Linked DNA regions of Homo sapiens: all the other regions are linked to region 1. Evidence: promoter capture Hi-C in human tissues and cell types (Jung and others, 2019). All regions are on one chromosome and are shown on one strand. The core of a region is centred on a gene start or on the middle of the fragment in contact, and the rest is flanking DNA. Distances in the headings are between cores, read along the strand shown.

Region 1 (5,609 bases), core at 2,067-4,566:
ACAAATAAAAGGCTAATATTCCTAATATACAAGGAACTCATAAAACTTGAGGGACAAAGGATAAAAATCCAATAGAAAAATGGAAAATAGGCCGGGCACAGTGGCTCACACCTGTAATCCCAGCACTTTGGGAGGCCGAGGTGGGCGGATCACCTGAGGTCGGGAGTTCGAGACCAGCCGGACCAACCTGGAGAAACCCCGTCTCTACTAAAAATACAAAATTAGCCAGACGTGCTGGCGCATGCCTGTAATCCCAGCTACTCGAGAGGCTGAGGCAGGAGAATCGCTTTAACCCGGGAGGCGGAGGTTGCAGTGAGCTGAGATCGTGCCATTGCACTCCAGCCTGGGCAACAAGAGTGAAACTCCGTCTCGGAAAAAAAAAAAAAGAAAAATGGAAAATAGACAATTCCGAAAAAAGGACATTATATATATGTTTAAACATATCAAAAGTTTATAACTGAAATCTGGGACAATTCAAGCAACAAAATAAATAATGATAGCAATGGATTATAACTCATAAAGCAAATATCTCCTATCATCCCGGCACTTTGGGAGGCCGAGGTGGGTGGATCACTCGAGGCCAGGAGTTAGAGACTAGCCTGGCCAACATCAAAACCCCGTCTCTACAAAAAAATACAAAAATTAGCCGAGCACAGTGGCATGCACCTGTGGTCTCAGCTACTGGGGAGGCTAAGGCAGAATAATCTCTAGAGCCCGAGAGACAGAGGTTGCAGTGAGCCAAGACTGTGCCACTGTACTCCAGCCTGGGCACGGGAGTGAAACTCTGTCTCAAAAAAAAAGGCAAAGAAAAAAGAAACTACTCTTCTAGGCCCGGCCTGGTTCCTCAACACTTTGGGAGGCCTAGGCGGCAGGATCACTTGAGCCCAGGAGTTTGAGAGCAGCCTGGGCAACATGGCAAAACCTGGTCTCTACAATAATTTAAAAATTAGCTGGGCATGGTGTTGGGGGCCTGTAGTCCCAGCTATGTGAGAGGGTGTGGTGGGAGGATCGTTGGAGCCATGATTGTGCCACTGCACTCCAGCCTGGGTGACAGAGTCAGATTATGTCTCCAAAAAATAAATAAAAGGAAAAAAGGGTAGGGGGGAAGACTCTTAGTCCATAATAGTCTACCTTTCTCCCATCCTTGATTGTGAATTTAATCTGTTGGGGAATGTGGTTATTTGTCCTGTGGAAGTTGATTACTTCATCTCGGTGTTTTTATTTTTCCCTTTCTTGTATTTCCTGTAAACTGTTGGCTAGATCTAAGGTTTAATTAGATTTGAGTTCAATTTGAGGGATCAGGAATACTTCACAGGAGGAACTGGGTATTTTCTATTGCATCACATCATGAGGTATCTCGTATCTGGTTATCTCACTTTTAATGGTACTAAGATTGATCAGTGGTTCAAATGGTATCAACCTGGCTGGGCGTGGCAGCTCACGTCTGTAATCCCAGCACTTTGGGAGGCTGAGGCGGGCAGATCATCTGAAGTCACAAGTTCCAGCCCACGCTGGCCAACATGGTGAAACCCCATCTCTACGAAAAATACAAAAATTAGCCGGGTGTGGTGGCACGCACTGTAATCCCAGCTACTCGGGAAGCTGAGCCAGGAGAATCACTTGAACCCGGAGGTGGAGGTTGCAGTGAGCCGAGATCGCGCCACTGCACTCCAGCCTGGGTGACAGAGCAAGTCTCCGTCTCAATAATAATAATAATAATTTCTTTTGTAGAGATGGGGGCTCACCATGTTGACCAGGCTGGTTTCGAACTTCTGGCCTCAAGCGATCTTCCGCCTAGGGTCTCCAAAGTACTGGGATTACAGGCGTCAGCCACCACACCCAGCCAAGTTCAACATCTTTTCTAAGAGCCAGATGTCATTTAAGTTTATCCCTATCAATAACTGACATTCAAATGCTGAAATCTTGCCCCCAGTGGTAGCAATCTTCATAATAATGCCAGATGAACTTTCCTACCATAGAACTATAGTTGAAAGTCTATGTCAATCTTTTTACTACAAAGCACTGTAGGAAAAAAATTTAAGATGAAACTAATTTTTAAAGTTGCATTACACAAGTAAAACTCATCTCAGAGATTATTACTATGATTGGGAACCAAGTTGACAGATTTGGGAGGTCTTCACTGTGAAGCTTTATGGAAATATCTAAGTCAAAAAAACTAGTAGGGAGCTAAGCATTATAAAAAAAAAACTACACGGCTGTCTCTAGGAGGGGGAACTGGAGCAGGGACACGAGGCAAGGAGCAGCGGCTTTGCATCATAACCTCATCTGTGCATGTACTACGTCGACATTACACAGGGCAAATATGGAAGAAAAGTAATACAGTCAGCTGACAACGTGCCCCCCAAAAGCCTGTTATATATACACGATTCCAGCCGGGCGCGGTGGCTCAGGCCTGTAATCTCAGCACTTTGGGAGGCCGAGGCGAGCAGATCGCTTGAGTCCACAAATTCGAGACCAGCCTGGGCAGCATGTCAAAACCCCATCTCTGCAAAACACACAAAAATTAGCCGGGTGGGCCGGGTACGGTGGTTCACCCTTGCAATCTCAGCACTTTGAGAGGCCCAGGCGGGCAAATCACCTGAGGTCAGGAGTTTGAGACCAGCCTGTCCAACATGGTGAAACCCCCGTCTCTGCTAAAAATACAAAAATTAGCCGGGCGTGGTGGTGCATGCCTGTAATCCCAGCTACTGGGGAGGCTGAGGCAGGAGAATTGCTTGAACCTGCGAGGTGGAGGTTGCAATGAACCTAGATAGCGCCACTGCACTTCAGCCTGGGCAACAGAGTGAGACTCCGTCCCAAAAAAGAAAAAAATTAGCCGGGCGTGGTGGCGCGCGCGGGAGCCTGAGGTGGGAGGATCGTCTGAGCCCGGGAGTTTGAGGCTGTGGTGAGCAGTGATCGCTTCACTGCACTTCAGCTTGGGTGACAGAGCGAGACCCTGACTCAAAAAATAAACAAACATAAAAAAACGCTTCCAATGTTTTGTTCCCTTACATCAGAATCCACTTGGACAATATTTAAAGGGGCTAAGGTCATATAAGGCTCATCTGGCGACTGAAAAGTCTTCAAAGAGGTTGACGCGTCCGAGGTGAGTCTGAAGTTTGGAGGACAGCACGGGACCGCGATTCCAAGGCGCCCAGGTTGAGAGCGCAGGCCGCCCGCCAACCTCCACCCTCGCTCCAGGCCCAGCCGACACAAAGCCTCGCGGGAGGTGGAGCCTCGTGACGTCACAGAGACGCCCGCCCCCTTTACGTCGTGCTCTGAGGAGGCCAGGAGATTTCTGGCGGCGCCGGCGCCATTTTGCTGGAGCCTGCGACCGAGTGGGAGTGGAGTGGAGCGGCTGTGGTTGCCGACTCTTTCCTCTTCCCCACGGTCCAGTCAGCGGGTTAATTAGGCCATCGGCCCTCGAGCCGAGACTTGTCTCTTATTTAGTTCTGGGGAGCGCCTCGTCGACATGAGTGATGTGGAGGAAAACAACTTCGAGGGCAGAGTGAGTACAAAGCCGCGGGAGCCGTCTAGGCGGCGGCCCAATGCTCGGGGTTTCACGGGAACAAGCGCGGTCGGGCGGGGTTGCGGGTAGTCCCGCGAGGAGCAACCTCTGGAGCCATCGCGATTGATTCCTCCCATCCCAAGATGGCTTCTGGGTTCCACTCCTTCCCCAAACACCACGGATAACACCCCTCCCCCTTTTTTGGAGGCTGACTGATACCTGGACTTCTGGGTCCTCTTCCCTCCCCGCCCCCGCATTGCTTCCTCCCTTCTCCCCACCCCTGAGGCTTCCTTATGTCTGCTCCGAGGTGTGGGTCCCCGTCGCGGTTGGGCGGGAGGAGGCGGCAGGGAGCTCCCCTCCGTCCGGATAGTGGTAGGTGCTTCCTGCGGTGGCATTTCTGGCGACCCCGAGCATCGTAGAGGGTCTCGGGATCGAAAGTGCGCGGGGCTGCTTTCCGGGCGGGGAGAAGCTGGCGTGGGACTAGCTGGGGCCTGTGTCTCCTTGGCTCTCTATTTCAGTGAGCGGCCGCGTCTCTGTTGGAACCGGCGGCGTTGCGTCTAAAAAGGCGAAAGCCTTGAGGTTGAAGGTGGGACGAGCCTAATGAAGTGGTTAGTCAACGACCGCACCGACCCTTAAGCGTTCTTAAGACGAGAGCTGTGAGGGGAAACTACGCAAGGAGCCCTTTTCCCTTAATGTCCCTTCGACTTTCCTTTCACTTCGAAATGAATGTGGAAATGCTGTCACGCCTTATTTTTCTAATTCCTCGATGTTGGGTTTTTTCTCTTCTTTATATCTCAACTTTTAATGCTCTTCTTCCTATGACCTTTCATCTAAAAACTGACCACTCCTTTACAGGTTTTTACGGTAAAAAAAAAAAAATCTGTCTTTCTTTAATCTTACATAGCTGAACGAATTCATTGGCTCAGTATTTTTAAGATAACTAGTCAGTATATACTGTTCTGTAACTTAAAAGATGACCTGAAAATTAACAGGCCCTCTCCCATTTCTCTTCTCACTCTATCCCCCACCGAAGAGGGCTCAGAAAAAAGTTTTTATTAATATATTTGGGGTCGGAGAAATACAAACATCACAAAGAATACGATATCCCCAGCTTAAATGTACTGGAACGTTTGTCAGTGAGTTTCATTTCCAAAGTTTACCCTACATAGGGAATTGTAGAAGTGAGTTAGTAGAAGTGAGTTCGTGTGAAACCCTGGAAAGAAAACAAAAGCCCCATGCAACACGTTCCGGGCTGTTGTGTAGATGTTTATTCTAGTCACTAGGGGAAGCACATAAAAACACCTGAGGTGTGTGTGCTGAAGGGCGAATTTTGTCCTTTTGGGGAGTTCATGATATAAACATCTAGAACCAAAAAGTCAAATCAGAAGGTCAGTTTAGGCTTTAGTTCTCTTTGAGGAAAGATTTAAAGCAATAGACTATAATAGTTACCCGGTAGACTAAAAAATTTGCCTTTAATTCTTTTGATTGGAATTTTTTTTTACAAAGTTTGGAGCATGGAAACAAATGAAAATTGAACCTGCTTATTTTTTAGGATGGTGTATTGATGGCCCCAACAGAACTTTCTAAAATCATGCGATAAACATATATGATAGTAGTTGTAAAATGCTTCTTGTTTTGAAAATGTTGAGTAATTATCGATAGAAATTTTGCTGTCCATTCATACATTCCTTCAATTAACTTTCATTGTTAAAAAATTGGGGGATTGATGTTTGGTTTGGTTTGTGGGGAGTGAAGAGGACTACTGGAGGGACCTTGTTTGCTTGCTTTTTTTCTTTTTTTAATTTATCATCAAGTCTAGGAAAGGAGTAAGTTGCCGACAATTGTCACTTTTCCCTCCTAAGAAAGTAACATGTTAAGATTCCCACCTACCAGCCTGGGTGACAGTGAGACTCCCGTCTCAAAAAAAAAAAAAAAGATTCCCACCCACTTTTAAGCTAAAGTATATGTAGGCATTAAAGATTTATTTAATAGAAATAAAGGGCCCTCTTACGGCCCTTTGTGGTCATAGGAAATATTTTTTTCACAAGTGGTACCCAAGTGTATTTTAGTGTAAATCAACTAGTGCTTGTAGGCTCACCTG
Region 2 (5,609 bases), core at 1,770-4,269, 1.4 Mb before region 1:
TTGACTGTGGGTCACTTTCATCCTGGGAGGAGTCAGTGAGTATTTTCCGTGGAGACTGATCCAGGACCTGATGGAAATGGGCATTTTCATTAGTGATCTAGAATATAAAGTGGAAATTATACTCTTAGGGTTTGCATAATCTCATAGCTACAAATGAGAAACTCATAGGGTTTCCTCAGCAGGACCAAGAACTAGTTTGAGTGAAAAAGATCTGAAAGATCAGTGACTAAACTGCACAGCAGTGGCTGTGCTGAAGAAGCTCAATGATTGTATGTTTTTAAAAAACATTCATTCTGTAGATATTTATTGAATGCCTACTAATGCGTCAAGCCCCCTTGTGGGTCCAGGGGATACAACAACAAACAAAGTCCCTGCCCTCATGGAGTTTGCATTATAAGCAAATAAATATGTATGTCAGGTGATAGTAAGTGCTGTGGAGAACATTAAAGCAGGGATAAGTAGGTTAGAGTGTATAGGGGACAGGGGTGCTGCTGTTTGATTTTACATAGAAATGGCCAAAGGCCTCTCTGATAAGGTGACATTTGAGCAGAAACCTGAAAAAAGAGGGGAAGCACAGACTGCACAAACATCTACTTAGAGAAAACAAGAAGTGCAAAGGCCCTGAGGCCACCCCAGTAGCCTCTCCTCCACAGAACAGCCAGGGAGAATCACTAGAATGGAAGCTCTGTGAGAGCAGGAACAACATGTATCTTGTCTACCACTGTATTCCCAGCACTGGAAAAATTCCCAGCGCATTGTAAGTGCTCAGTATATTTTTGTTGTTGGAATAGATTAATTGCTAAATGACATGGTAGCCCCCAAACTCATTATGGGAAAAGTTTGCTTTCTTCCTTGTTGGTGGGGAATTAACTGGTAAATTAACCTGCTACTGGCTTTCAGCAAATTCATGAATGATTGAACTATAACTTTATTAATTCAAAAATAATTTTTTGGAAGTCTGTTATGTGCCAGACACTGTTCAAATGTTGGTAATATGTATAGTAGTGAACAAAAGAAAATCCCTGCTTTCATGAAACTTGAGATAAGGCTAACTCCGTGGCAGAGTTGACAAATGGTCAGATACTGAGAATCAAGAGGTAACCAAGGCACATTATGGATCTTTGAGGCTGTGATTATGGAGGGCATGATCACATTTCCCTTGCCTGCCCTGTTTGCTCACCCTCTACTCCATCCTTAGATCCATTCCTTTAGTACTGTCAGCATGAACCCTTGGCCAGAAGGACCACTTATCAGACCCCATGGGATACTTTTTATGCTCTTTCCAAAAAACCTTTTCAAAGTGTCTTCCACCTTTATGATTTCTAGGTAATGTGGTTTTGTCATCATATTCCTGCTAAAAATTTCCAGGTTTGAAATTAAAGAGAGGGTCAATGCAAAACGACTTTTTGTTTGTTTAGGGTCCACATCTTTAATTCTTTTCAACGTACTGTTGGAAGAACCTAAGTTTATTTGTAGGAGATGGGGTCAGGAGGATTGCAGACTTGCCTTTTTACATCTTGGCCCCCTCTGTCCCCACACCTTTTTTTTTTCTGATTTGTGTGAGAATTGACCAGGCAGCACTGAGTAACATGGTTGGGATAGAGAGAGTGCTGTTTGTCTAAACACTTTGTTTGCAGCAGAAATGCCAAGGTTAACTGGGTCTCTCGTGGATATGATTATATGAATTGAAGCAGTGTAGATGATTCTTGGCATAAGAGTAGCTATAACAACATTCTTAATTATATAGAACTTTTAAAGCTATTTTGGTCTGATACCTTACCTTGGGACTGAAAGATTTTGACATCCTTATGGAGAAAGGATTAAAAAGTAAGCCTCTCTTGGTGCAGAGAATAAATAACTTCACGTCTAAAAATACCTTAATATGCAAAAAGAAAAAAAATTAATCCAAAGTGTTTGGACAGACTTTTCAGCACAGCCAGATGATTCCTGGTGCTCAGGAGAGTACTTTGGCTTGAGTGATTCTGTGTTTGGACATTATTGCTACTTTGTTTGCCTGCATGAAAAAGATAGTTTTGGGAGAAAGTAGAAGAGTGGAATATCATGAAAGAGGAAGGAAGGTCTTGGATGAAGAGCTTCACAGGGCCTGTTTGGAGCTGCCACTTCCAGTGTACCCAGACCCCTTTCTCTCAGTTTGTTCTAAGGTTCATCTGGTGATTGAGAAAGTGTTCCAGACTGTTGATCATCATTGTGATGATTACCATAAGGATTATTTTCTTCATGAGCTGTTTTGTCTCACATTTTGTAGCAAAAGCTATTCCTGGGATACATGCTGCCTGCTTCTAGTTCATGCCGTTGAACATTTAATGGAGAGTCAGGCATTGACCATTTATTAAATGGAGCTCCAGTTGTGCCTTGATCTAAGTGACTTGGAGTTCTATTTTCATTCATTTGTTCAGCGTTTACTGGGCACCTACTGTACCAGGATCTGAAATAGGTAGTGGATACAAATCTGCAGCTTCTGTTTAGAGTAAGCTTCCTTCCCTGTCTGAACTGTTTGATCACTGATACAATCTGACTGCTTCCTAATGTGCCTAATTCTTTTTCTGATGATCTATTTAGTTTTCATACTGAGAGTAATAATGAATGTTCAATTAATAAACTTTTATTTAAGATGATTATTCAAGTCTGATTACAATTCAGCAGATACGTAATACTTTTTTTTTTAACACAATACTTTAATAAGACACATTTAAACTCAACTTCTGAGCAGCCTTTCTGGCAGGGATAGGAAATTAGAACCTGCTGGTATAATTTTTTTTGAAAGAAACCCCAGGGAAGAGTTGCTTGGTTAGGAAAGATGGGGCTTACTCCTTGGCAGAGCTGACAAATGATGGCATATTGAGAATTGAACTATAGATGGGTTGCCAGAATAATTAAAGTGATGAAGCAAAACTACTTAAGTGAAGGCTTTAATCTTTTAAGATAGTATTATTAGCAAAAGCCCAGAGTATGTATTTATTTACCTTTTAGAGACGGGGTCTCACTCTGTCGTCCAGGCTGGAGCACAGTGGTGTGATCATGGCTCACTGCAACCTTGAAATCCTAGGCTCAAGTGACCCTCCTATCCTAGTCTCTCAAGTAGGTGGGACTACAAGCATGCACCACCATGCCTGGCTAATTTTTAGATTTTTTTGTAGAGACAGTGTCTTGCTGTGTTGCCCAGGCTGGTCTTGAACTCCTGGGCTCCAGGGATCCTACCACCTCTGCCCCCTAAAGTGCTGAGATTACAGGCATTGGCCATCCCAGAGTTATTTTAAATGAGATTGGGGAGGGGAAGCGGGGTTGATAGGGAATTGGGTAGGGAAATATTTTAAATCTGGGAACCTTGATGGTACTCTTGTTTATAGATTCAGCTGATGGTTTGCATATTGGTAGGGCAGGCCTAGAATCCTGGAAATAACCTTACCATAATCTCTATAGAGTTGATGTAATGCACAGTTAAGAATGTTGCAGGATTTTGCATGTGAATATACATATGCCTGGCATGAACCGTATTGAGATACATGATAAATTTGAGTACCTAGTCTCCAAAGGTGGCTCATATGAGCATCTTTCCATATTTATAGAGCAACATCTAAAATTTCATCCAATTTCAGGATATTCTTTAAGGGTATTACAAATAATATTTTAGACATGTTAGATTAGACCATACCTTCTGAGGTTTCTGAGGTTTCGGTTTGCTACAGGGCATTGTATTGAATGTCAGGAGACCTAGATAACCGGTATATGATTAGTGATTACATGACATTGGGCAAAACTTGAGCCTTGTGGGCCTCAGTTTCTCTGTCCTTAAAATAAAAAGTTGGACTATTTATGTTGTGCTTAGCTTCTTAATTTTTTTTCTTAATTCTGTTTAGATTACAGATCCTAACCCACATGAAATATCAGCCTATTGAGCAGAATTTTGTGCATCATTTCAGTGTCTGGGTAGTTCAAGTGCCTCCTGCCTATTGCATTCCAAGACTAAGACTTTACTCAAAGTCTGAGCTCCTTTTTTGAAGCTTGAAAGAATGGCCGGTGGGGAGGCCCCTCTACATTCATTCGTGTTCTTCCTTTTAGTTATTAGATGTTATAATCCAGTTAATAATATCCCCAAGAAGTGTTGCTGTCAACAGTACTAGAGCTCTCTACAGTCTCATTCATGTTGGAATAAAATGATTCCTTTTTATGTTTTAAAAAAAAGAAAACATTTGAGGTCTCACTGGAAGTGTTTATTCATTTGAGCTGAAAGATGTACCGTGGGTGTTGTGATTTTGGAGAGCTTCTGCAGCAGGTTTATGTCTAGAATGTTTTGTCCCTGTTTGTGTTTGTTTAGACTGAAATTAATAGTTTTTCTTGCAAGCTATGAGGATCATTAATACAGGTTTCTCCCCCGTGGTGTGTTTGTCAGCCCTTACATGGAAGAACAAAATGAAAGAATATTTCTTGTTTTAAGCTCAAAGCTTACGTCTTTACCATTAAATTGGGGAACTTGGGGGAAGAAAATCCTGTGTGTGTGGGTAGGGGGAAGGGATTTGTGTATATGCACAATAATTAAGTTTAAGTCATAAATACTAATAGTCTTCTGGCTTTTGTAAACCAGATTTCTTTCCTGGATCTAAAAGTGTTTTTATTTTTTGTGCCCACATCTGTAGTCATGGATTTGATGTATATATTTAATAACATTCAGTGATTTATTTTTCGGTTCACCTTTTTCATTTTTCCCCTTTCTTTTTACCAGAAGGAATATGAAGTTACATATAAATTCTGCATAATTGAAAAAGTGATTTTGATTTACTTTTTACTTGAGCAAGGAGTTGCTTTTACTTAAAGGCATTTTTATTTTTAAGAAATTTGAAAAAACCCCACTTAAGGATCCACTTACATTAGGCCACTAGCAAATATTTTTAGATAAGATTTTGATTGATTTCTTTCAGTCTGATTCCATAATCTCAAATTTCTTCGTTTCTTTTCTCCTACTTTCCATCCTCTTGATGCTACAATCAATAATTTGATTTGGGAGATTCTTTCTTTTTGTTGGGGCTGGTGGTGGGGAGGGAGATCGTTGTTTTGAATATTAAATGATCATTTAATGGGGCTTTGACACAATATCATATAAATGCAACTTTAATCCATTCATTCAGATTTAAGGCTTAGCTTTATATAAAATATGAAGCTTAATTTTTTTTTTCAACTCAAGTTCAGTCTCCTCTGATTTTGTAACAGACTTCTAACTGTTGAGCATTGACTTTAAACAGTCCTCTGTGGTGACTTGAGTTCCAAATTACATAACCACTTTAATTCTGCACTAATTTGTTCTGAATGACCCTCTTTCTTTCATTTCACCCTTAACATCTTTGGCTAAGAAATTTTACATGTTTTTGTTTTGTTTTGTTTTGTTTTTTGAGACGGAGTCTCACTCTGTTGCCCAGGCTGGAGTGCAGTGGCACGATCTCCGCTCACTGCAAGCTTCGCCTCTTGGGTTCGTGCCATTCTCCTGCCTCAGCCGCCCAAGTAGCTGGGACTACAGGCACCCGCCACCGCGCCTGGCTAATTTTTTGTATTTTTAGTAGAGACGGGGTTTCACCATGTTAGCCAGGATGGTTTCG
Region 3 (5,609 bases), core at 803-3,302, 1.2 Mb before region 1:
TGGGAGTGGCAGTTCGTGATGCTTAAGGACTGTACATTCCCGAGGGCTTATTTTCAGTCACTTTTATTTCAGGTCATTTAGATAAGTTGTCATCTGCAGACAAGTTATTTTAGGCCTCAAAAATCAGAATATTAGCTTTATTGTCTATGAAATGTGTGCACATATCAAAAACAAACTTTGTCCTTGAAAAAACAAGCCTGTGCTGGGCAGGAAGGCATTCCACAGAAATTAACCTTCCGGATACCTGGAGCTGACCCCTTTGAATGCAGTCTCTGTGCAGATCTTAGCATTCTTGATGGAAACTATTCTAAGATATGTCACATACTTTTTTTTTTTTAAATGGAGAATAACAAATTTATTGAGTCTTTTTCATAGTGACTCGGATAAGCTCTTTCATTTTTGTGTTTAATAAGCTTTCATTATTATTCTGTAATACGCTTTTCATTTGTCTGCCTTGTCTTCCGTGGTCAGCTGCCATTTGTCACTACCATAAGTATAAAAGCCACAGCCCACCCCACCTCTGCCACTAGCTTGTTGCTTCTAATTTCCTAGGGTCTGGTAAGTTTATTCCTGGTCAATAACTTAGGTCGACTTGGTAAGCCGTTTCTGCCCTTGGGTTCAGTTTCCCCAGCTGTAGGTGAGATAGTTGGACTAGATGATCTCTGAAGGCTTTCTCCTGGCTGAATGTCTGGAAGTGAGTGGACTCTGGAGCGCGCACACCTGTCAGCTCCCTCCCCTGAGTTCTGGGCCGCGGTCCCGGCTGTTTTCCAGAGACCATGCTGCGTTGTGCTTTCCTGGCTATTTGGGGATTGAGGAGGGTGTTACCATAAAGGCATATCCCACTTTTATTCTTCATCATATTGTAAAGGGAATTTTGGTAAAGCAGATTACATTTTTCTATGCACATACAGTAATGAGAAGTTTGGTTCTTTATTAGGAATTCCAAATTAAATAAATTATATGAAACCAGTATATTAAAGCAATGTCATGACCATGATAAATCTTCATAATTAAAATGTTTCAGAATTACACTGAATATATATATACATATATTTACGTAAATATATATACATACATTTATGGGATATATGACATTTTTTAATGAGGAATTTTTAATGGGAAAATACATCTCATGAGATGTTTTGATACAGGCATACAATGTATAATAATCACATCATGTAAAATGAGGTATCCATCACCTCAGGCATTTATCCCTTGTGTTACAAGCAATCCAATTATACAGTTTTAGTTATTTTAAAAATGTACAATTATTATTGGCTTTAGGTGTCCTAAAGTTATGCTATCACATACTAGATTTTATTCATTCTTTAGGTATCCTAAAGTTATGTTATAAAATACTAGATCTTATTCATTCTTTCTATTTTTATTGGACCCATTAACTATCCTCGCATCCCCCTACCACTCTCCCACTACCCTTCCCAGCCTCTGGTAACCATCCCTCTACTTTCTATCTCCATGAGGTCAATTGTTTTAATTTTTAGTTCAAGAAATAAATAAGAACATGTGAAGTTTATCTTTCTGTGCCTAGTTTATTTTGTTTAACATAATGACCTCCAGTTCCATCCCTGTTGTTGCAAATGACAGGATCTTATCCTTTTTTTTTTTTTGAGATGGAGTCTTGCTCTGTCACCCAGGCTGGAGTGCAGTGGTATAATCTTGGCTCACTGCAACCTCCGCCTCCCAGGGTCAAGCAGTTCTCCAGCCTCAGCTTCCCGAGTAGCTGGGATTACAGGCACCCATCACCAAACCTGGCTAATTTTTGTATTTTTAGTAGAGATGGGGTTTCACCATATTGGCCAGGCTGGTCTTGAACTCCTGACCTCGTGATCCGCCTGCCTTAGCCTCCCAAAGTGCTAGGATTATGGGCGTGAGCCACTGCGCCCAGCCCAGGATCTTACTCTTTTTTTAATGACTAAATAGTACTCTATCGTGTATATTTACCACATTTTCTTTATTCATCTATTGAGGATTAGGTTGTTTCCAAATTTTGACTATTGTGACTAGTGCTGCAATAAATGTAGGAGTGCAGATAGCTCCTCAGTATACTGATTTCCTTTCTTTTGGGTACATATCCAGCAGTTGGAATGCTGGATAGTATGGTAGCTCTATTTTTAGTTTTTTGAGGAATCTCCAAACTGTTCTTCATAGTGTAGTAATTTGCATTACATTCCCACCAACAGTGTACAGGCATTCCCTTTTTTTCCACATTCTTATCAGCAGTTTTTATTGCCTGTCTTTTGGATAAAAGCCATTTTAACCAGGGTGAGGTGATAACTCATTGTAGTTTTGATTTGCATTTCCCTGATGATCAATGATGTTGAGCACATTTTCATATGCCTGTCTGACATTTGTATGTCGTCTTTTGAGAAATGTCTATTTAGATCTTTTGCCCATTTTTAACAGGATTATTAGATTTTTTTCCCTACAGTTGTTTGAGCCCCTTTTATATTCTGGTTATTAATCTCTTGTCACATGGGTAGTGTAAAAATATTTTATCCCATTCTGTGAGTTGTCTCTTCATTTTGTTGTTTCATTGCTGTGCAGAAGTCTTTAACTTGATATGATTCCATTTGTCCATTTTTGCTTTAGTGGTTCGTGTCTGTGGGATGTTACTCAAGAAACCTTTGCCCAGTTCAATGTCCTAGAGAGTTTCCCTCGTGTTTTCTTATAGTAGTTTCATAGTTTGAGGTCTTAGATTTAAGTGTTTAATCCATTTTGATTTGGTTTTTGTATATGGTGAGAGATAGGGTCTAGTTTCATTCTTCTGCATAGGGATATACAGTTTTCTCAGCACCATTTATTGAAGAGGCTATCCTTTCCCCAATGTATGCTCTTGGCACCTTTATTGAAAATGAGTTCAACATAAATGTATGGATTTGTTTCCGGATTCTCCATCCCATTCCATTGGTCTGTATTTTTGTTTATATGCCATTACCATACTGTTTTAATGACTATAGCTCTGCAGTATAATTTGAAAGTCAGGTAATGTGATTCATCCAGCCTTGTTCCTTTTGCTCAAGGTAGCTTTGGCTATTCTGCATCTTTTGTGGTTCCACATAAATTTTAGGGTAGTTTTTTTTCTATTGCTGTGAAGAACATCATTGGTATTTTGTAGGGATTGCATTGAATCTCTACAAAGTATAGATTACTTTGAGTAGTATGGACATTTTAACAATATTTATTCTTCTGATCTGTGAATATGGAACATCTTTCCATGTTTTTTGTGTCCTCTTCAATTTCTTTCATCAGTGTTTTATAGTTTTCATTGTAGAAATTTTTCACTTCTTTGGTTAGTTTGTAGATATTTAATTTTATTTGTAGCTATTGTAAATGGGATTATTTCCTTGATTTCTTTTTCAGATTGTTCTCTGTTGCCCTATAGACATGCTACTGATTTTTGTATGTTGATTTTATATCCTACAACTTTAGTGAATTTGTTTATTGGCTTTAATAGTTTTTTGGTGGAGTCTTTAAGTTTTTCCAAATATAAGATCATGTTTTCTGCAAACAAGGATCATTTGACTTCTTCCTTTCCAATTTGAATGCCTTTATTCTTTCTCTTGTCTGATTGCCCTAGCTAGGACTTCGAGTACTATGGTGAATAACAGTGGTGAAAGTGGGCATCCTTGTTGTGTTCCAGATCCTAGAGGAAAGGCTTTCAGTTTTTCTCCATTTCAGTATGATACTAGCTGGTTGGTCTATCATATATGGCTTTTATTGTGGAACTATGTTCCTTCTATGTGCAGTTTTTTATCTTGAAGGGATGTTGAATTTTATCAGATGCTTTTTCAGCATCAGTTGAAATAATCAAATGGTTTTTGTTCTTCATTTTGTTGATATAATGTGTCACACTGATTGATTTGCATATGTTGAACCATCCTTCCATCCCTGGGATACATCTCACTTGGTCATGATAAATTATCTTTTTAATGTATTGTGGAATTCATTTTGTTAGTATTTTGTTGAGGATTTTTGCATCACTGCTTGTAGTTTTCTTTTTTTTTTTGATGTGTCTTTGTCTGGTTTTGGTATCAGGGTAATACTGGCCTTGTAAAATGAGTTTGAAAGTATTCCCTCCTTCTCTGTTTTTTGGAATAGTTTGAGTAGGATTGGTATTCATTCTTTTTTAAATGTTTGGTAACATTCAACAGTGAAGCCATCAGGTTTTTGTTGGCTTTTCTTTTCTGGGAGACTTTATTTTGGCTTTGATCCCATTACTTGTTTTTTTTGTTATTTTGGCTTTGATCCCATTTCTTCACGGTTCAATCTTGGTAGGTTTTGTGTCTAGGAATTTATTCATTTCTTCTAGGTTTTCCAATTTATTGGTGTATAGTTACTCATAGTAGCCTCTAATGATCCTTTGAATTTCTGTAGTATTAATGTAATGTCTCTTTTCTCATTTCTGATTTTATTTATTTGGGTCTTCTCTTTTTTTCTTAGTCTGGCTAAAGGTTTGTCAACTTCATTTATCTTTTTAAAAAAACAAACTTTTGTTTCATTAATCTTTTGTATTGTTTTCCTCATTTTAATTTATATCTGTTCTAATCTTTATTATTTCTTTTCTTCCACTAGCTTTGGATTTGGTTTGATCTTGATTTTCTAGTTCTTTAAGATGCATTGTTAGATTGTTTATTTGAAATTTTTCTACTTTTTTGATTTATGTACAGCTATAAACTTCCTCTTAGTACTGCTTTTGATGTACCCCATAGGTTTTGCTGTTGTGTTTCTGTTATCATTTGTTTCAATAAAATTTCAATTTTTCTTAGTGTCGTCATTGACTCACTGGTCATTCAGGAGCATGTTGTTTAATTTCCATGTATTTGCATAGTTTCACAAATTCCCCTTGTTATTGCTATATAGTTTTTTTATTCCACTGTGGTCAGAGAAGGTACTTTATATTATTTCAATTTTTTGGATGTTTTGAAACTTGTTTTGTGGCCTAACATATGGTCTATCCTTGCGAATGATCCATGTGCTGAGGAAAAGAATGTGTATTCTTCAGTTGTTGGATGAAATGTTCTGTATATATCTATTGGGTCTGTTTGGTCTGTAGTGCAGATTAAGTCTGATGTTGATTTTCTGTCTGGATGATCTGTCAAATGCTGAAAGCTAGGTGTTGATGTCTCCAGGTATTACTGCACTGGGGGCCTATCTCTTTAGCTTTAATAATATTTTCTTTATATATCTGGGTGCTCCAGTGTTGGGTACATAAATATTTACAATTGTTATATCCTCTTGCTGAATTGACCCCTTTATCATTATATAGTAACCTTCTTTGTCTCTTCTTATAGTTTTTGTCTTGAAATCGATTTTGTCTGACATAAATATAGTTACTCCTGCTGTTTTTTTGCCTGTGATTTGCATGGGCTTTTTCCATCCCTTTATTTTCAGTCTATATGTGTCTTTATAGGTGAAGGGTGTTTCTTGTAGGCAACAGATCATTTGGTCTTTTTTTGTTGTTTTTAATCCATTTAGCCAGTGTATGTCTTTTAATTGGAGAGTTTAGTTACATTCAATTATTATTGATAAGTAAGGATTTACTCCTGTCATTTTATTATTTGTTTTGTGGTCTTCTCCTCCTTCTTTCT
Region 4 (5,609 bases), core at 1,595-4,094, 1.2 Mb before region 1:
GGCAGAAATGAAATCCACAAGCAGACAGCCCGGCGTCACACCCTGGGCCTGGTCGTTAAAGATTGACCCCTGACCTAATCAGTTATGTTATCTATACATTACAGACACTGTATAGAAAAGCACTGTGAAAATCCCCATCCTATTTTGTTCCAATCTGATTAGCAGAGCATGCAGCCCCCAGTCACGTACCCACTGCTTGCTCAATCGATCACGACCCTCTCATGCGCACCCCCTTAGAGTTGTGAGCCCTTAAACGGGACAGGAATTGCTCACTCAAGAGCTTGGCTCTTGAGACAGGAGTCTTGCCGACGCTCCCGGCCGAATAAACCCCTTCCTTGTTTAACTTGGTATCTGAGGAGTTTTGTCTGCGGCTCGTCCTCCTACACCTGGCTGAGGGCTCCCTTATAAAGCATCCTGAAAATTCTGGCCATTTCTTTGACCACCCTGGAAAGGGGTCTTGACTTGCCTTCCCTGCCAATAGTGGAAGGAAAAAAACATTTACAGAGCCCCTGCCATCTGCTGGGTAGAGTGTGGGTCATTTAATGCAAGATCTCACTGAACGTAACCCTCATAGCAAATTCTCAGTTTACAGATGTGCAAACTAAGCTTCAGGACTGGAGCAGTAGCTCAGCTAGGAGGAGATTGAGTTAGTCTGTTTGCATTATTATAAGGAAATACCTGAGACTGGGTAATTTATACAGAAGAGAGGTTTAATTGGCTCATGGCTCTGCAGGCTGTACAGGAAGCATGGTGCCAGCATCTGCTCTTGGTGAGGCCTCCAGAAGCTTCCAGTCATGGAAAAAGGTGAAAGAGGAGCAAACATGTCACATGGCAAGAACAGGAGCAAGAAAGAGGAACAAGAGAGAGTGAGGGGGAAGGTACCACACTCTTAACCAGTGTGAACTCAGAGTGTAAACTCACTCATTACTGCAAGGCGGGCACCAAGCCTTTCATGAGGGATCCACCCCCGTGACCCAGACACCTCCCACCAGGGCCCACCTCTAGCACTGGGGATCACATTTCAACATGAAACTTAGAAGGGACAAACATTAAACCACATTGGAGCAGGGAACCGATTCCGGGATGACTCCAGGTCTTTGTGTTATATCGACCTGCCAGGTACGCGCAGAAGGGCAACCTCACAGTAGAACTGGGTGGGCGGAGTTGAGCCAAGCCCCTGAGTGAGGAGAGGGAGTTCTTCTCGACTGAGTATGCACCCCCTTCCCCTGCCTCCAGACTTGCTCCTTTGGGGCTGGCCCTTTCTGTTGAGGATATACGCCTCTGCCTCAGTGGCCTCCTGTTCTTGCTTTCACGTTGCCGCCCCCGCCAGGAAGAACAAGGAGCCTGCCCTTAGATGTGTGAAGCGGATGAAGAACCTCTGCTTGTTCATTTTCTCCTGGAAGAGCTTCTGCTCCATTTTCCCTGTCTTTGGGCATTGGCTCCTGGCTGGACTTGGGGAGAGGGTCTCATTCCAGTCCTGCCCGGGTTTATGTGATAAACCATTCATTTTATCCCCCAGCTGGGTGGATAGCACAGGGCTAGGCACCAATAAAAAGAGCAAGTACTTTGTCCTCCAGGAGCTTACAGTCTGTCCAGAAGGCCTTTTTTTAAAATACTTTTTTTTTTTTTTGGAACTGGGCAATCTATTCACATGGTTTAAATGTCAAAAGGTCAAAAGAGAAAAGGTGAAAAGCCCCTCCCCGCCATCTGGTTCCCCACCCAAGAGGCGACCACTACTAATAGTTTTCTGTGTCTCTAAAGCCATTCTGTCTGTGTTGCTCAGTGGCTCTCACAGGGCCCGAGAGGAAAGAAATCAGGACAAGTTGGGGAAGAACTGTCAAATGGCACAGGGCGGCAGCCACGAGGAGAGTGAGATGGGCTTGGGGAGAACAGGCAGGCATGGATATTCTGATAAGGATTCCCAGAGGACTTGGGTATAACTTGCTTTTCCAGCCTCCATCTACTGGTCTGGTTACATAGGCAAGATATTTACATATAGAAATGAACATAGCAATACAAGAGTTAATAGAGATGAAGATTCAATTCCTAGTACAGCCCAAGGGTGCCCTCACCCAGAAGAGGGAGACAGCAGCTATGGGTGCTATGGCCATGTGGGCCATTGTAAAAGACCTGGGCTTCACAGCTGTGTGACTTTGGTTACTACCATCAACCTCTCTAGGCTCTTTTTTTTTAAACTCTTCTGAAACCCTCAACTGAGAGTTTTAAATGTTTTGTTTCATGAACTCTATTAGCAGTTGAAGAAACCCATGGGCCTCTTTAAATGCTTATAATAAAATATATAAGGTTATACAGTAAACAAATTGCATTGAAATTTGGCTGGTTTCTGCACTAGGCGGGCACAGGGGAGCCCTGTTGCATGGTGATTTCTGTTCTGAGGAGGGCCAGAGCCAGGGTCTGGTGACCTTGAACTGTTCTGGGTCTGCACCTGAGAACACCGTCCCCAGGGGACACCAGCTCTCCCCCTGGGGCTGCTTGGGGCTTGGTGGAATTGACTGAGGGAGGAGATGGGGAAGAATTCCCTCCCGAGATTGCTTTTCAGAGAGTCAAACGAAAAATCCATTTTCCCTGATGTGTAGCTTCCCCGCTGTCCCTGTGGGGCCTCTCCTAACTGAAGATGATTAAATATTTCCAGCATTTGGTTTCCAAAAGGTGGCAGCACTGTCCTGGGAAACAGAATCCCAGTGACTTGGGTGGAAGTGTTTGCTGCTAGGTGGATGATGCCTGCAGTTTCCGGCAGCCCTGCCTTGGTTGCCCAGGGAAGGATTCCCAGTGGCCTGCATGAGCTGTGGCTGTGTGACACGTTTCTGGTCACCCGAATCCTAGCCTTGGAGACAGTCTCCGTCCCTGGGCGAGCTTCTGTTCCTGCGCTGTGGTGGGTCCGCCCCACAGAGACCTTTTGAAGGCAGCGACTCAGCAAGCGTCTCAGGACTGCCCTGTCATCGGATACAGCAGGCAGTTGCCTGCCCACCTGCGTAGATGGCTGCCCCTCTCTTTTGGTGTTTGAGGTGGGGGTTCTGGAGGGAGGTGGGCATTTTAAGCAGTGGAGTCTTGAGTAGTCTAGGCTGAGCTTTTTCTTTTCAAACAATTTCACACTGGCTAGGAGCAGTGTCCAGTGTTCAGTGGATTCTGTTTAGGGCGGGTAGGAGGGCTGTGATTTCCAATCCAGCAGAGTCACATCAGACTCCTAAAGGCGGCAGTTGTGGGGTCGTCACCAGGCGGTGATGTGTCTGACGTGCGTCTAGCTGGGAGGAGCCCATGCCTTAGTTGTGAGGGCACAGACAGACGTTCAAGAATCTGCTAGAATTTTGAGCAATAGAAGGAAGAGACCATTGGAAAGGGAACAGTTGAATGTATGTTCTGACCGGTGGTTACAATGGCTTTTATCTTTAAAGTCTTTGCCTATGGGACCAAGACATGCAATCCCTTAGGAAGATCGCATCTGCTATGCACCATTTTTTGATCCAAGCTGCAGATCCTCCATTTCCCCCATCTTCCGTGTCTTCTGTCTTTCACACGTGGATGCACAAATACATATGTACACATTCATTCAACCAATAGAGGAAAAAACCTCACAAGTTTTATTTACTCATTTATTCCAAAAATATTTCCTGAGCTCTTCCTACGTACTAGGCATTGATCCTGGCCCTGAGATATGCAGTCAACAGGAGAGCACACTCACCACCTCTGTGGGGTTTATATTCTTGATGGAGGAGGCAGGCCATGAGCAGATAAATGAATGAGCTAGAAAAATATCCTGTGGAAATGTGCTCTCCAGAGAAGTGATCTTAGGGTGTGATAGCATGATGGGGGTGCAGGGAATGCTTCCCCGAGGAGGTGACCAATGAGTCAGTGAAATGTGGCCATCAGGGAATGTGTGCCAACGCCTCGGGGTAGGCACACACCTGGCATTTTTAAGGAGTAGTAAGAAGGCTGGAAGATAAAGTCAACAGGGGGCAGGGCAGATCACATGGGGCCTCAGCCTGGGAACGCACTGGACATGGGATATAGCCATTGAAGGCTTTTAAGAAGGGAGTGATGTGGAAACGTACCTCTGATTCAATTCAGTGCCCCATAATTCCCATGCAGGGCACACACTGTGGCTTTGTTTTGTGAGCCTCATAGAGGGACACGGGAAGGTGGGCGGAGCCAGCTAGTGTTTGTGTGGCATTTAACTCTGTGCTCGGCACACCCTAATGGCTCACTGCATGCATGTCATCTAAACCCTGACGGAACCCCATGAGGAGGGGGCCCTGTTACCAACAGTTCATGCACGAGAAAACCTAGGTGCAGAGGTGGCCCTTCACTCGAGCTTGCCCAGTGGGAGGGCAGAGCTGAGATCCGAACCCCAGCCCTGCAGGCTCCAGGGTCCCTGTTTCCTGTTCCTTCCTGGAAATGGAGTCTCTCGGCAGCTTTGTGGTTGTCATCAATGTATTTTTATCACGTGTGAGACATTTTTATAATTTGAATTTCCTTAACCAGTACTAAGATTGAACCCGTTTTTCCTATGTCTTATCTATTTGTTATTGTGGTAAAATAGATGAGACACAACATTTACTGTTGTAACCATTTTTAAGTGTAAAATTCAGTGGCATTAAATACATTCACCCTGTTGTGCCGTCATCTCTACTCTGCATTTCTAGAACTTCTTCGTCACCTCAACTAGGAACTCTGCAGCCATCAGGCAGCGAAGCCCTGCAGCCCCGGTAACCTCCAATCTGCTTTCTGTCATTATGAATTTGCCTGTTCCAGATATTTCATATGAGGAACCACACAATATTGCTCATTTGTCCCTGGAGTGTGTTACTTGGCATAATGTCTTCAAGGTTCACCCATGTTGCAGCAGATGTCAGAACTTCACTTCTTTTTTTTTTTTTTTGAGACGGAGTTTCGCTCTTGTTGCCCAGGCTGGAGTGCGGTGGCACAATCTCAGCTCACCGCAACCTCCGCCTCCCGGGTTCAAGCAATTCTCCTGCCTCAGCCTGCTGAGTAGCTGGGATTACAGGCATGTGCCTGGCTAATTTTGCATTTTCAGTAGAGACGGGGTTTCTCCATGTTGGTCAGGCTGGTCTCGAACTCCCGACCTCAGGTGATCCACCTGCCTCGGCCTCCCAAAGTGCTGGGATTACAGGCATAAGCCACTGTGCCCGGCCCAACTTCATTTCTTTTTATGGCTGTATGATATCTCATTATATGACTATAACACATTTTGTTTCTCCATTCATCTGTTGATGGACACGTGAGTTGTTTCTATTCTGGGCAGGTGATTACATTGAGATGGGACTTTCCTAGCTACTCACTCCAGTTCCAGGGCTACTTTCTGAAGCCCAGAGAACCTGAGTCTGTCTAGGATGGGTGACCCAGCATGTGTGTGGTCAGGGATGGGTGCTGAGCTTTTCAAGGTAACTAACCTCTTAAAAAAAGACCAGCATGGATACCATAATTTTTCTTGTGCTGTCACCAACTCTAGTTTGGTTCTTTTCCTGTCCATTTCATAGAATCATAGTATTGAATGAGATCTCCAGAGAAGTTATTTCATCATTTGCTTCTAAGCATGAAATCATCTCCTGTAAATAAAAATTTAGTCTGTT
Region 5 (5,609 bases), core at 1,154-3,653, 1.0 Mb before region 1:
AATTAGCTTTGCCAGATGTTGAACTGTAAGTGGAATAATACAGTATATGTTCTTTTGTGCTTGGTTTCTTTCACTTGACAATATATTTATGACATCCATCCATGTTGTGTGTAGTAGAAATGTTCTGTCTTTTTTATTCCTGTTACCATAATCTATCATATTGAACATACAGTATATCATAATTTGTTTATGACTTTTGCTGTTGATGGAGAAATGAGTTTCTCATTTTTGGCTTAATCAATAGTGCTTCTTAATACCTTCTTGTACATGTCTTCTGATACACAAGGTATACATTTCTCGTAGGTATACTCCCAGAAGTAGAATTGCTGGGTCATGGGGTACGTGTATGTTCAGGCTTTAGTAGATACTGCCAAAGAGTTTCCAAAAGTGAATGTTCCAATGCACACTTCTTTCAGCAGTGTATAAGAGTTCCATTTGTTCCTCATATTTGACAACACTTGATAATTTATGTCTTACTAATTTTAGCCCTTCTGGTAGGTATCTCACCGTGCTTTCATTTTGTTTTTCCCTTATACTAATCATGTATACTAGTTTTTAATTTATTCTTCTACTATTTAGTTTTGCCCTTTTATTAGACAAAAGGTAATTCTCTCCATATACTGTTTTCTGTTATGCACACTGATTTTTTTTCACTTAGTATATCCTAGAGATCTCTGTATAATACAGTGTAGTAAGATTTTATTTTTTTCTACAGCTACATAGTATTCAATTGCATAGATGTGCCTGAGTTTATTCAATCAGTTCCCTATCAATGAAAATTTAGGCTGTTTCCAAACATTTTCTATTATAAATGTGCTGCAATTAATAGGCTTATGCACACATCTTTTCATATTTTTGCTACTGTATCTGTGGGAGAGATCCTTAGAACTGGCATTGCTGGGTCAAAGACAAATGCATATGTAATTTTGTTAGGTGTTGCCAGATTTCCCTCCATAGGCATTGTACCATTTTTTATTTTTTACAAGTGACCAGTAAGATATGTGGTTATATTTTATGCAATAACCCTCTTCTCTTAGAATGCTCAATAGCCAGGGAATTAAGACGTTGGCAAACCTTTTAAGTGAATAATCTTTTTTTTTTTTTTTTGAGACAGAGTCTCGCTCTGTTGCCCAGACTGGAGTGCAGTGGTGTGATCTTGGCTCACTGCAACCTCTGCCTCCTGAGTTCAAGCGATTCTTCTGCCTCAGCCTCCTGAGTAGCTGGGATTACAGGTGTGCACCATCACTCTTGGCTAATTTTTGTATTTTTAGTAGAGACAGGGTTTCACCATGTTGGTCAGGCTGTTCTCGAACTCCTGACCTCGTGATCCGCCTGCCTCAGCCTCCCAGAGTGCTGGGATTACAGGCATGAGCCACCATTCCTGGCCTAAGTGAATAATCCTTAAAAGTAAAAATATTTGATTATCTATAAAACTACAACCTCATAAAGCATTTTAATGTTCCTTAAATTTTATATGTACACATTTTAAGATGTGTATATATAAAAATTGAGTTAGTAATGTAATGTGTATTCATATGCATTCATATAAAATGTGGTTTTTAATAACAATGTATTAGCTAAGAATGTTTTAGTTGTGAGTTTAAGAGGGAAAAAAGTGAGGCATTCATTGATTCATATAACTGGGAAGTCAAAGGCAGACTTGCTAGTCAGGTATAATGAGATCCAGGGACTCAAACAATATTGATAGGAAACTTTCTTTCTCCCCATCTATGGCCTCTGCTTTCCTCAGTGTTAGCCAGGTTTTCATTGCCCTTCCTGCTTGCAGTCTCACAAGGCAAGAGGTCTTCTCTTGTCAAGCATCCACATCTGTCCCTACAAAAGGACTCTGACTTTCACTGAGCTGTGAACACCTCCTCTGTGTCAGAGAAGGTGATAGGGAGTTCTCTCGACTGAAACAAGCAGAATAAAGGAAGCTGAGGTCCACTTTCCCTGCCAAAAGGTTGTGGGCTACTCTAAAACAACAGATGTCTTTTATAGCTGCGAATTCTGTTGTCTGGATACACTGAAATTAATCTAGCCTCTCTCTGGTGCCCACCTTAACATTTAGGGTGTTTCCATGTTTTGCTAGTATACATTATATCATCTAAATATTCTTATATTCTACACTTTATTTCTTTAAGATAGATCTCTATAAATGGAATTACTAAGTGAGAGGATATGGATATTTCACATATATGGCCAAATCCTTCCAGGGTGCTTGTAGTAATATATACTCTCAGCAGCATTGATGAGACTGCTCTTCTACCACTCCCAGGGGAGCATTAGGAATTTTAATTTGATAGGGGTTATCACATTGCTTCATGCTTGATTTTCACAAAACAATAAATATCTGTTCTGTTTATAGTAGGTATTCGATACTTAGCTCTTCATTTTATTTATGTTTCAGATTTTCCTATCTTCTTTTCCCAATGCCTACTTACTCTTCTTCCAATTTAAAAGAAAAACTGTGAAATAAAAGAAAGGAGAATATATCTCTTAAGTGCAAAAATGTCAAGTTCTCATATTTTCCCCACTATACTTAAGATTTATGAGATGCCTTGAGCAAGTAGCAAGGTACAGCTGTGTCATCAAGAAGTGACTTGTGGGTGTGTGCAGCTGGTCATCATTTCTTCAGGTCTCCCATGAAAGCTTCTGCAAACAAACATACAATCTGAAGACACTGTGCTTGCTATGCTAACTGGCAAGGCAAATCCCCTCATCCTTCTTCCAACCAGGTTGTTACTCATAAACTCCTTTTAGACAGAAATTCTGGAGTCATCACTAACTTTGTTCACTGCAGCGTGTATTAGTCTGTTCTTGCACTGCTAATAAAGACACACCCGAGACTGAAAAATTTATAAATACAAAAAGGCTTAATGGACTCACAGTTTCACATGGCTGGGGAGGCCTCACAATCACGGTGGAGGGCAAAAGGCATGTCTTACACGGCAGCAGGCAAGACAGAATGAGAGCCAAGCAAAAGGGGAAACCCCTTATAAAAACATGAGATCTCATGAGACTTATTCACTACCATGAGAACAGTATGGGGAAATCGCCCCCATGATTCAATTATCTCCCACCGGGTCCCTCTCACAACACATGAGAATTATGGGAGCTGCAATTCAAGATTTTATCAGCCAAACCGTATCACAGTGGTTCTCAGACTATGGGCCCAGAATGCAAATTCTCAGGCCCTACCGCAGACCTACTATATCAATAACTCTGGCAATCTGCGTATGTGGGTGTAATTGTGGTAAAATACTCAGAACATAACATTTTCCATCTTAATCACTTTAAAATTTATTTTTAATTGGCAAGTAAAATTATATTTATCATGTACAACATGTTGTTTTGAAATAGTATATGCATTGTGGAATGGCTAAATCAAGCTAATTAACATAGGTATCACCTCACATTCACCTCACATACTTTTTTTTTTTTTTTAAGTTTGAGATGAGGTCTCACTCTGTCACCCAAGCTGGAGTGCAGTGGCGCCATCTCAGCTCACTGCAATCTCTGCCTCCCAGGCTCAAGCGATTCTTGCACCTCAGCCTCTCCAGTAGCTGGGACTACAGGCATGCACCACCACACCTGGCTAATTTTTGTACTTTTTTGTAGAGATGGGGTTTTACCATGTTGCCCGGGCTGCTCTCAAACTCCTGGACCCAAGCGATCCACCTGCCTTGACCTCCCAAAGTGCTGGGATTACAGCCATGAGCCACTGCACCCAGCCACTTTTAATTTTCTTTTTTTTTTAATGGTGAGAATCTTAACTGTTTCTAGGTGTACAGTTCAGTAGTGTTAGGTACATTCACATTGCTGCACAACCAATCTCTAGAATTCTTCTTGTCTTGCAAAACTGAAACTCTGTACCTATTAAACAGCAATTTCCCATTCTCTACATCCCCCAGTGCCTGGCAGCCACCATTCTATTGTATGTTTCCATGAATTTGACTGCTCAAGGTACCTCATGTAAGTGGAATCATATAACATTTGTCTTTTTGTGGCTGGTTTATTTCACTTAATATAATGTACTCAAGGTTTATCCATTTAGCATGTGTTGAATTTCCTTCTTTTTTTTTTTTTTTTTTGAGATGGAGTTTCGCTCTTGTTGCCCAGGCTGGAGTGCAATGGCACAATCTCAGCTCACCGCCACCTCTGCCTCCTGGGTTCAGGCAATTCTCTCGCCTCAGCCTCCAGAGTAGCTGGGATTACAGGCATGCACCACCACACCCAGATAATTTTGTGTTTTTAGTAGAGACGGGGTTTCTCCCTGTTAGTCAGGCTGGTCTCAAACTCCCGACCTCAGGTGATCCGCCCGTCTTGGCCTCCCAAAGTGCTGGGATTACAGGCGTGAGCCACCGCACCCGGCCAAATTTCCTTCATTTTTAAGGCTGATGAATATTCCATTGTCTATATACACCACATTTTGTTTATCCATTCATCCATCAGTGGATACTGGATTGCTTCCACCTGCCAATCTGTGGTTTAACAAATCCTTCAGGTGATCCTCATATACACTTAAGTTTGAGAACTCCTGGTTAATTGAAAATAAAAGTGTAGGGATTGTCATCTTGACCAATCTAGAATTCTTTTCAGAATGTGTTAAATTATGTTTGATACAGCAAGCTATTCTATATAATGCATATGACCCAGGATGAAATATAATACCTTTTTGCTTATAGTAAGCACACAAGGATGTAGAATGGAATACTACAATGACAAAAAAAATTTAGTAATGTTTGAAATAAAAACTGTTCAATTAAGCAAGAATATGTATGATAATGTGCTAAGATAGGCTAATCTGATTTTTGAAAGGTCAAAACTAGACTGGGCTGAAAACTAACAGGTTAAAAAGTTAAGGTAGATTTTTTTAAAAAAGTAATAAAGGACACATGCTATAAATAACATAAAGGTAAACAGAAGCATTCTATTATATGCTTACCATGGAATTCAGCGAGTTGTTCATGGGGTTGACAGAGCTATTTTAAAATAGCTGAATTCTTTTGCAGTTACCAGGGAACATTTGCCGTTATGTAAACTACCATTAAGAAGGGTAGTCAAATATCATGAAGCAGAGCATTAACTGACAGCTTGAGGTAGTCAGTCAGTTGAGGACCCCGTGGTGATGCAAAGCATTGCATAATGGGCTACGTGGGCTTTGGGATGGGGAGATTCAACTTTCCCACAAGATCCCAGCTAGAGAATTGTGTTGGAGGCAGAGTATAGTACTAGACAGGCTAATGATATGATTTCAAATAGGAATTTTAATTCTTTCTCAAGAAATGAACATATGTATTTGGTTTAGTATATTTTATTTGGAAGGAGAAAAAGATCCAAATGATGATATAATTGATACCTGGCAAAGGCAAGGTATTTAGATACAGATGATTTGAATGAATGAATGAATGAGTGAATAAATGAGTAAATAAATAACATGCCAGATAATTAATTTCACTCACATTTATTGGATACATAGAATGTACAGGCTTTTAAGGGGAGGTCCTAGTGTATATAAATAAGTCAGCTGATTCACTAGGGAGTGAGCAAATAAATGAATTATTTCCTCTCCTTTGTGTCGCATGTCTAGTTCTCACTACTAACTGAAG

What was found. The method cuts DNA at HindIII sites, captures the fragments that hold promoters and counts their contacts. A contact is called where the count stands out against the background at its distance.
Region 2: a fragment that was not itself captured here is called in contact with the fragment with the promoter of TRA2A in region 1 in 1 of the 25 tissues and cell types used here (lymphoblastoid cells).
Region 3: a contact is called between a fragment that was not itself captured here and the fragment with the promoter of TRA2A in region 1, in 1 of the 25 tissues and cell types used here (lymphoblastoid cells).
Region 4: a fragment that was not itself captured here is called in contact with the fragment with the promoter of TRA2A in region 1 in 1 of the 25 tissues and cell types used here (mesenchymal stem cells).
Region 5: a fragment that was not itself captured here is called in contact with the fragment with the promoter of TRA2A in region 1 in 1 of the 25 tissues and cell types used here (thymus).

The regions. Positions count from the first base shown.
Region 1 is chr7:23,529,688-23,535,296 of GRCh38, reverse strand. TRA2A (transformer 2 alpha homolog) reads left to right here and starts at 3,316. Exons shown (of 8, transcript NM_013293.5): 1 at 3,316-3,508. The coding sequence starts at 3,473. RefSeq lists enhancers at 2,078-2,577, 2,937-3,056, 2,578-3,079, 3,227-3,446, 3,457-3,506 and 3 more. The HindIII fragment of the contact is 6,699 bases long and covers 1-5,609 here.
Region 2 is chr7:24,950,518-24,956,126 of GRCh38, reverse strand. All of the region lies in intron 1 of OSBPL3 (oxysterol binding protein like 3), which reads left to right. Among named protein-coding and RNA genes, the nearest start is that of OSBPL3, 27 kb to the left of the region's middle. RefSeq lists an enhancer at 5,022-5,521. The HindIII fragment of the contact is 3,603 bases long and covers 1,218-4,820 here.
Region 3 is chr7:24,736,112-24,741,720 of GRCh38, reverse strand. The region is part of intron 3 of GSDME (gasdermin E); the gene reads left to right. Among named protein-coding and RNA genes, the nearest start is that of GSDME, 19 kb to the left of the region's middle. RefSeq lists a silencer at 1-131. The HindIII fragment of the contact is 7,050 bases long and covers 1-5,577 here.
Region 4 is chr7:24,720,196-24,725,804 of GRCh38, reverse strand. All of the region lies in intron 3 of GSDME (gasdermin E), which reads left to right. Among named protein-coding and RNA genes, the nearest start is that of GSDME, 34 kb to the left of the region's middle. RefSeq lists enhancers at 1-53, 738-1,421, 5,145-5,244. The HindIII fragment of the contact is 4,296 bases long and covers 697-4,992 here.
Region 5 is chr7:24,549,686-24,555,294 of GRCh38, reverse strand. No RefSeq gene overlaps it. Among named protein-coding and RNA genes, the nearest start is that of PALS2, 21 kb to the left of the region's middle. The HindIII fragment of the contact is 7,513 bases long and covers 1-5,609 here.